3 separate regions of the Homo sapiens genome follow, and regions 2 and 3 are each linked to region 1. The links are contacts of gene promoters, found by promoter capture Hi-C in blood cells and fetal thymus (Javierre and others, 2016). All regions are on one chromosome and are shown on one strand. The core of a region is centred on a gene start or on the middle of the fragment in contact, and the rest is flanking DNA. Distances in the headings are between cores, read along the strand shown.

Region 1 (2,980 bases), core at 160-2,659:
GGGAGGATCGCTAGAGCCCAGGAATTTGAACGTGCGGTGAGCATGATCCAGCCACTGCACTCCAGCCTGGGTGACAGAGTGAGACTGTGAACAACAACAAAAAAATCAAGTTTCCTGGATCTATACAAAATTTTCAATTTAACAAATTTTTATAAAAATTTGTTTTAAAATAAACACCCCTCTAAATGGCAAAGCTAGAACAGAATCTGGTCACAATCTATAGGTTAGATATAGGATGACAGGGAGGAGCAAGAGCTGAACACATCAGCTGCAGCACCATCTACTTTGCCTGCGACTCCGTTAGCAGGCCCACTTTGCCCTTTTATAAATTATCTGATCAACAACTAAGAGATTAAAATTCGATCTATGTTTTACTCTATCTGAATCCTCAATATAATGAAGAACTTTATAATTGTTAATTTATGGATATAATTTAAGTTCATTAAACCATTATTTCCTTCCTATATCCTCTCATTCTTCCACAAAAACCTCTACCTTTGGGTGTTTACTTTTACAGACACCCACGCACACACCCCACACGCACGCACGCACATGCCTTATCTTTTAACTCAAGATTCTCATCTTCCTTTGGGGAGAAACAAACATCATGAGCCTTGAGGTCCATTTTCTGAGGGAAAGGGGGGGGCGGAGGCGGGATGAATAGGTTTTTACCCGGTATTTTTTATCATAAACGGGGAGGTACAAACCGCAAAGAAACACTAGTCGCTTGGTGGGCCACCACCTCTGGGGCTCACTGATCAATCGCACCCAAACTCATTTACTAATTTAAAAAAGTACTGTGGCAAGGCTCGTTTACGTAAGTCTTGGAGAGAAGCCGCCGCCACAATCTGCCGCAGTCTCGTGCGGAGTCACGGCCACCGAGCTCTTCACTTTCCCCAAGAGGCTCCCACGCCTTCCCCATCCCCAAGGGAGCTAGGCGGTCCCTCGCGGCTCTGAGTCCCTCGGGGAAGGCCGCGAAGAGAGGCCGCAGGCGCCCTGGCGAGAAGGGAGGGCGGGGGCAGCGGGCGGCGGGCAGCACCCGGGCTCCAGTTCATGACCCCGTTATTCCACAGAAAAATGGAACATTCCGCTCTTTCCGCCCACAGAGGGGAGGTGGGGGGAACCCTTCGATCTAGTCTGGGAGAGGCGACGCGGACGCAGCCACCGGAATCCGGGACGCGAAGAGCCGCGTTACGGGAATCGCTACCCCTCGGAGTCCCGCCCCCTCGTCGACAGGCGGCCACTGGACCAATGCCTGGGCGCAAAGGGTCTCTCAGGGGCCAATCAGCGCCTAGGTCCCGGTAGGGGGCGGGGCGCAGCGTTGGCCGGCCGGGGGCGCAGCTGGGCGGGATTGGGGAGCGCCCCGCCCCGCCGCGGGACTGGGGTGGCGCGCTACCTCTGCGGAGAAGGATCTGACAGTGTTCCGGAGCCGGGGCGAGCAGCCAAAAGGCCCGCGGAGTCGCGCTGGGCCGCCCCGGCGCAGCTGAACCGGGGGCCGCGCCTGCCAGGCCGACGGGTCTGGCCCAGCCTGGCGCCAAGGGGTTCGTGCGCTGTGGAGACGCGGAGGGTCGAGGCGGCGCGGCCTGAGGTGAGGAGGGGCCGGGTGCTGGGTCGCGTAGCTGGAGTTAGAGTGTCGGTGGTTTCGGACGGGCTATCTGGCACTCGAGGAGACCTCCCTTCCCCCTGAGAGCAGCGCCCGGAACTTGTCAGCCCAGCCTGGAAATCCCCACATTCCTTCCCCTTCCTGCTCCCGGACCTCCGAATTCTACTTCCACAACTTTGTCACCTCGATTATCGCAGCCCTGAGTACAAACTTCACCCAGGCGCACGCACGCACCCCTCTTAACGCCCGCCCCGCAGAACGCCCTTCAAGAACAAACCCCCCTTTTTGTTACCAGATCCCACGTTTTTCCCAATCCCCTTTTCATCTCCCCTGAAATTCTATTCGCTCCGCACTTGTCTTCATTCTCGAGGTGGATTTCCCTTCCCCAAAGCCGTTTTTTCATCTTGAAATCGTAACGTTTCAGCTTTGTTGAAAGTTCACAATGCTTATAAACACTATTAACGTTTCTTTCCTTCTTTTGATCTTTTCTATTAATAATTATCATTCCTAACGAATTCCACATCTCACTGTATCCCAAGGAGAACAAATCAGTTTTTAAAATTTTACCTCCTCCGACCTAAACTTTTGAAGATAGTGCAGGAAGCAAGGGTCTGTTCTTCAGTGGATGAACAGCATTTTATTTCATAATCCGAAACTGAAAAAAAAAAAAAATCACAGGTTAAAAATAAGACGTCACCTTTTTTTTTTTTTTTTTTTTTTGCCTTCAGAAGGAAACGCATTTTGGCTTAGTTTGTGAAGTATTTCAACAATTATACTGCCTTAAAATAACTAGTTATTAGAATGCCAGGGTGAATTTTCTGAAAGATTGTGGTATTTGCTTTTGACAGTGCTGTAAACAAACCCTTTAAACTGTGTATGACTGCCAGCTTCAAGTTGGAACAACTCTTAATTTGAAATTACGGACTCAGATCATCAGTTTAGCTGTGTGCCATTATGTTAATTTCTTAAATTCATGTTAATTCCTATTTGGAAGTATTTTTGAACTATGAACTGAAATATTACATTTATAGAACCAACTTGCTATTAAATTGTGCTTTCCAACTATTTCTCTTTAGGGATAATCTTGAACGTTTGTTTTTAATCTTGAGTGAAAGAAAAAAATTACAGGAAGGAGAAAGTGTCAAAAAGGACAGACTGTAGTGGGATTTTTTTCTTATTTTAAGTATGTATTGACAATACCAGTTTAATTTTCTCACAGGCAATTTAGATTATTATAAATACTGCTGCCACCTAATTTAATATAATATAGTCTTACGTAACTAAAAATGTTGTTCTCACTCTTATTTGTGAATTGCAGTATTTTCAATTTATTTAAATTTGTTTCCAAGGCTTTGCACTTCAGTTCAGTGTTAGGGC
Region 2 (3,257 bases), core at 157-2,656, 860 kb before region 1:
CTCAAAAGCAACAATCAAAGGTGATTAAACAAATGTGAAAAATAAGCACTCATAACTTCTACAGTCAACTTATTCAACTACTAGATCAAAGATCTAGGTACGTTTTTATTTGTTTTTACAAAATGTAGGACCTTGAAACAACACTGGGCATAATTTCAAATAGTTTGATCACTATGCAATCATTTTCCCTGCTTTGTGTGTGTGTTTCTTTACAATGTTATATTACAATAATAGGTTAGATGTGTATCTCAGAAAACCAAAAGAGACTAGAAGTTTAAAGATCAATTTCTCAAGCAGAAATGCAGTTTACAAGACCTGCCTTTTTTTTTTTTTTTTTTTAATTAAGGCTTTCAGACCTAATCTAGCCATGACCAAAGGCCAAACTCCACAGCTTTGTACAACTGAAGCTCAGCAGACCTTTCTGGACTTTCTCCCACTGCTCCTGTTCTATAGCCAGTTGCTGTGTTCACCAAACTTGCCTGACCCTTCCTCCTCCTGTGCTTTCACTCACTCTCCTCCTATTTTAATACTCATCTCCAGCCTGCAGCACCCCAGGCAGTACACCTTCACATGAGGAAAATTTACCCATCTTTCTACGCTGAGTTAAAATTCTTCCTTTTATGAAACTTCCCTGAAGTCTACCAGCAAGACATTCCTTCTCTTTCCTAAGTCCCTATTGCTCTTCTGCCCATCCCACACATTTGGCACCTAGTCACAAGTTGCTTTGTGATATTTCATGTATTACTCTATTTATTATGTATAAGTCTAATTTTCCCATTTGGAGATATTTACCCTTTATGTTTCAAGAATGATTTGACACAACTTACTTAAAGTATAAAAACAAACAAAATCAGACCTCCCAAGTAAACAGTAAACTTCCTAAGGATAATACGAAATCCGTAAATCATAAAATGTAGGGTGGCATAATTAAGCTTAAGGACTATGTGTTATGCATCTTATTCCACACATCTCCTCCCTCTTCACTCATGTCTTATATACAGACAAGGTACTTTGGTACTTGCTAGAAAGTGAACAGTATAAAAACCAAAATTTTGTTTTAGAGAACTGGATATTCTTAGTTCATGTATAATAAAGAACAAATAGCTGGCTCATTTTTAAAAAGTTGTGATTTATGCCCTACGGTATTCTCAAAAGATTTAGGCTGTTTGAACACCTCCATCTAAAGGAGCTCAGAAAGCAGCACATTCAAACTTCAGATGGCTCTGCTTGTTCAAAAGTTCTTTATATTGATTGAGTAGTAATATGCCCTTTTAACTGCCAACATTCTACAAGATGTTTCAATAGCACTTTCTCTTCTCTAAGATAAATCCTTAATTTCTTCATATTCACCTTCTGGCACGAATAGCTAAAATGGTGAGGGGTTCCCACCATACCACCTCACGTGAGTAATAAATGGAAGAAATGTAGAAACTTAGCTGTAAAGACAAGGACTCACGGGCCCATAATAACTTACCAAGTGCTGGTATGGAAAGGAACAATTAGATTTATTCTGTATAATTCCATCGGTTAGAATGAGAACCAGTGGGTAAAATATTCCTGACAGACTGCAGCTCAGTGATGAGGATATCGAAAGCCACAGGGATTATTGAGTTATTTAAGTCAGACACGAGTCAGTACTACACATCTAAGAGAGCTTTCTGAGGCAGTGAAAATGTGCTAAAACTGCACTGCCTAAAAGGTAGCCATTGGCCACATGTGGTTACTGAGCATTTGAAATGTAGTTGGTGAGACTGAGGAACTAAATTTTTACTTTTATTTACATCTAATTAATTTAAATGTAAACTTAAATAGGCATATGGGATGAATGTAGGGCAGACAATCACTTGGCAGGGGTGTATTTAGACCCTTGTCAAAGCTTAGATGAATTTTAAGTTGCCATATCTGTTTTAAAAGAACAAAATAAAAACTTGCTGAGAGAGATTAGTGCTAGGATACTGTAATACTTCTTCCTTTGTAAGAATGAAGACACACATTTCATGATGGTATTCTTATAAGAATATATATTCTTATACCTATAGCAAAGGACAGAGTATCCCTGCTTTTTAAAATCTAGGACTCTAGATTTTCTTTCATCAAACCCCACACATTTTTAATTTATCTTAATCCCCATAGGTCTATTAAACATTTTTTCATGTCAAATGAGGATAACATGCTGACACTGTAACAAAGTTGGAGAAACGCACATCTTATGCATGCATGTGAAAACCCAATCATTACACTTATGAATTACTGCAATTAAATGTTTTCTTTCCTAGAAGATTTCTGAAATTAAGATCCTTGGATCCTGTCTTAGAGATAAAACATCTAAAATAAACTGGAAAAATTCTTTTTAAAATTTACAAGTACAGTATAAAACTCCAATGAAAGGATTTTAGATACTGACATGAGAGGGCAGTCTTGGTTTAAGCATTTACCCCTCCACCAAACACAACAGTTAAGTTCCCAGAATAGTTTAAGTTGTTTAATGAGCACAGTTTTAATTATGGTTTCTTCCAAATGACCACAATATCAAGTAAAGAAAACTACTACATTTAAAATGAAGAAGAAAAGCTTACAAGAGGATCTATTTATGCTTACTTTTCCATTTCCTCCTATGCTTTCTTCCTTATAACTGGTAACCCATAGCCACTTACCACAGGCCCTCGCCTATTTCTCCTTTCCAACCATTCGTGCTTCCAGGCTGGCATACAGGTTGCCTTCAGTTTCTCCCTGATCATTCGTTCCTCTGGACGATCATCCATCTTGTGCAACCCTTTGAGAGTTTCTTTATTCTCCATCTCACGACTAAAATGCAGGCAGAAACAAATAAAATGAGAAATGTATATATGAAAAATAATTTCCAAGAACAAACAGAATGGATGGTTCTATTTTATACTTCCAACGGACATGTAATAAAAAAGATAACTGCTAAAAACCCCAAATGACTTAAAGCTTGAAAAGATTCTGAATTATATACTACTGACATATATCATGCAGACCTATGTTCCACTGTAGTTAACAAAATGAATCCCAAGACATTAAGCACTATATTAACAAATATATTCACTAAGACTGCATTGTTTTTAATTCTACCACCCAAATAACAAATATTTAGAAGGGTGTATTACTACACTTTTATCCCAGGATTTCCAATAAATTAAGTCAATACAGATAGAATCTGGTGGATATGCTGATTTATCTGAAATAAGCTCAATAAATATTTAATAAGTGAAGTGAAACTTAACTACATCATCTAT
Region 3 (2,847 bases), core at 256-2,755, 880 kb before region 1:
TCTAAATGATTTGGGGGATAATCCAAGTTGTGTTTAAGAAATAATGATAACTATTATATAATATTAAATGTTCTTACAATGTGCCAGGCATATGGTTGAAAGTTTCTACATAATCTAATTTCAAACCTAAAAGGTATTTTCATTATTTTATGGGTGAGAAAACTGAAGTTTATTTAAGAGAGGTTAAGTAACCTTCATAAAGCCATCGTGCTAGTAAAAGGGAGAACCAGAATTTGAATCCAGGTCTGTCTCTATGATCTTGATCATGTGTTCAGATTGCCTAGGCTAGTCCAACTTTAACCAGCACATTATGCAAGCATTGTGGTTGGAATGATAAATTATGAGATCACTCAATTGTGACTCCAAACCCATGTTCGTAACTGTCATGCTGTATTACCTGTCAAGAAGATTCATTAGGCCCAATCGGTAGAGGATGCATTAGAAAAAGACTGAGGGAGGAAGCCTACAGACTGCTCATGAATTTTAAGAACAGACTAGATAAGAATTAAAGTAGTGATTCTGAATTGGGGGCAGTTTTGACCACTGGAGACATTTGGCAATGCCTGGAGACATTCTTGGTTGTCATAACTGGGGGCATGATCGGGTGGGGGTGGGTTTGCTCCTGGTATCTAATGGGTAGAGGCCAGAGATGCTGCCACAGTACACACATGACAACATCCCTGGCCCTCCCCCCACCCTCCAACAAATAATTATCTAACAAATGTTAATAGTACTGAGGCTGAGAAGCCCTAAAGAGACATATACGCAGAATGGAGAAAGTCCAGTTAGTCTCCTAAATTACCTCCTTGTCACTCTATTCCACCCATGAAAGAACTTTTAACAGGTTAAACTGGAAAACAACTCAATGATCTATGTCATGGAACCCTTTTCTTTGAAAAGGCTTTTGAATCTCCACATGACAATGTTTATTAAAAATCAATCAAAATGTTTATTAAAAACATATCTTCCTTAATATCTGATAAATTTTTTAAAAAATCAGAATAACGTTGATGACTCTGCCATCCCAAAAAGCATTTTTAATTTGGTCATGTATAAGGTATCTGCTCAGAAAAATGTACAGATATGAACAGCAAGACATTAAAAAAATCTTTAAAAATTAGCAAGCTTGTCTAGCTCACCCTATTTGTTGTTGTTCTGTTTTGTTTTGTTTTGTTTTAGGCTTTAGCAGCCTGAAGCCATGGTTTTTAGTCTGTCTCTAGTGGTAAGTGGAAAAGGAGGATGAGGAAGGAGCTTTACTGGCCCAAACAGAAACTAAGAAACCATGACTATATTCTCTCCCTTGGATACCCCTGCAAAGCCTTTAAAACAATGAAACTAAAAAGTAAAACAGTTATATAAGAAACCTTGGACATCATAAAAATCAGTAAAATTCAAATAAACAAAACAAAAGCTGTAATTTCCTGGAATTATGGAATAAAAATAAAATTTGGATTTTCCAAAATTAGGTAAAGTAGCTTTATTGTATCTTAAAAACACTATCTACGAACCATCAAAAAACCCCAAACCCATAATGATATGATTATGGAATAAAGCTACTTACTAAAGCAGCAACGTACACTTTGTAGACAGGGTCAGCACAGACCATTGACAGAACGCTGCAGCATGCCTCCACCACATCTCCTGAGATACTGGTCTGGGAAGACCCACTGGTGGCTCCCCCACTCGGGCTGCTTCCACTGCTGCCCCCAGAATTTCCAGTGCTCTCCCCATTTGCCAACAGCAGGGCCCCACTGACATCATGGGAAAGACGCCTGAGGGCCATCTCTCTCACATTCCAGTTTCTAGAAAATAAGCAGCCAACGAGTTCCATTCCAAACACCTGTATCAAACACACACGATGAATTCAATGTAAAGAAAAGCTTATGGACCCAGAGCATTTTGAGTTTAGCATCATTTTTGATTACTACGTAAAAACTGGACATTTCTGAAATCTTTACCATCCTTCACAACTTCAAATATATCCAGCCACTTAAGCATCATAAGGAAGAATTTTATACTCAAGTTTAACTGATAATTATCCAAAGTCATTAATATTTATTAGCTCAGGTAAAATTAATAATAAGCTCCATTAAGTCACTAGATGGCTATACATACATTCTATGCCTCTACTGTCCCACATGCTTACCAAAACGCCAAAAAACTGTGAAAACCTCAACTCTGTATTCATATTAAGGTAGTTTAAAGAGAAAAACTGGAGCAAGATTAAGAAAACAAACAAACAAACAAAAAACAAATCAAAAAAAGCACCAGGAGAAGGTTTCAAGAGATATAGAGTATTTCTCTTACAGACAAGAGCAATAAGCAAAACACATTTAATTGGTTTTTGTCTGTATAAAAAGGTTTAAAAAACTAGACAAAACAGGTAGGACTGTAAAACGAATGGAGTGGACAAATCAAACAACTGAAGAAAAAATGCTTGTGTTCGAGTAAGCAAAGGATAAATGTAGACGTAGAATTATAGTATATGCTGTTATCGTCGTCAATACCATGCCCCAAAAGCCAGAGTCCCTACAGTGAGGAAAGGGTGAATGGTCTTGACATTATGGGCCAATTAGCTAAAAGTAAGCTTAATACCTAAGATAATTCATTATGTGAAAAATGCCTAAATATTAAAGATGAATAAACACAACTTTTGAAAAACAGATCATAACATACTTATTTACATATGTTTTGTTATAAAGGGATATTATGGGAGAATGAACCAACTAGAATATAGTGAGCTTCTGGTACTGTTAAGTAGTGTACCACTACCTATGTTTTAACTGTCTTACCTAACATGCTTAATAAAAAGCTAGGAATGTAGAGCCTAGTCTGACCTAAAGCTTA

Evidence for each region. Contacts are between HindIII fragments. The CHiCAGO score rates a contact against its expected background, and 5 or more counts as called.
Region 2: a contact is called between a fragment that was not itself captured here and the fragment with the promoter of IL6ST in region 1, in 7 of 17 cell types (monocytes, M1 macrophages, naive CD4 T cells and 4 more). The highest score is 8.5, in monocytes.
Region 3: a fragment that was not itself captured here is called in contact with the fragment with the promoter of IL6ST in region 1 in 3 of 17 cell types (naive CD4 T cells, total B cells and monocytes); the score reaches 6.7 in naive CD4 T cells.

What each region holds. Positions count from the first base shown.
Region 1 is chr5:55,993,392-55,996,371 of GRCh38, reverse strand. IL6ST (interleukin 6 cytokine family signal transducer) reads left to right here and starts at 1,409. Exons shown (of 17, transcript NM_002184.4): 1 at 1,409-1,588. IL6ST-DT (IL6ST divergent transcript) reads right to left here and starts at 1,205. Exons shown (of 2, transcript NR_102755.1): 1 at 818-1,205. RefSeq lists an enhancer at 856-1,367, cis regulatory regions at 956-1,629, 323-2,641 and a silencer at 1,199-1,678. The HindIII fragment of the contact is 8,053 bases long and covers 1-2,980 here.
Region 2 is chr5:56,856,148-56,859,404 of GRCh38, reverse strand. It overlaps MAP3K1 (mitogen-activated protein kinase kinase kinase 1), which reads right to left. Exons shown (of 20, transcript NM_005921.2): 2 at 2,655-2,805. It also overlaps the pseudogene LOC124901214. Among named protein-coding and RNA genes, the nearest start is that of MAP3K1, 42 kb to the right of the region's middle. The HindIII fragment of the contact is 944 bases long and covers 935-1,878 here.
Region 3 is chr5:56,874,025-56,876,871 of GRCh38, reverse strand. MAP3K1 (mitogen-activated protein kinase kinase kinase 1) reads right to left here. Exons shown (of 20, transcript NM_005921.2): 10 at 1,562-1,840. Among named protein-coding and RNA genes, the nearest start is that of SETD9, 34 kb to the left of the region's middle. The HindIII fragment of the contact is 755 bases long and covers 1,128-1,882 here.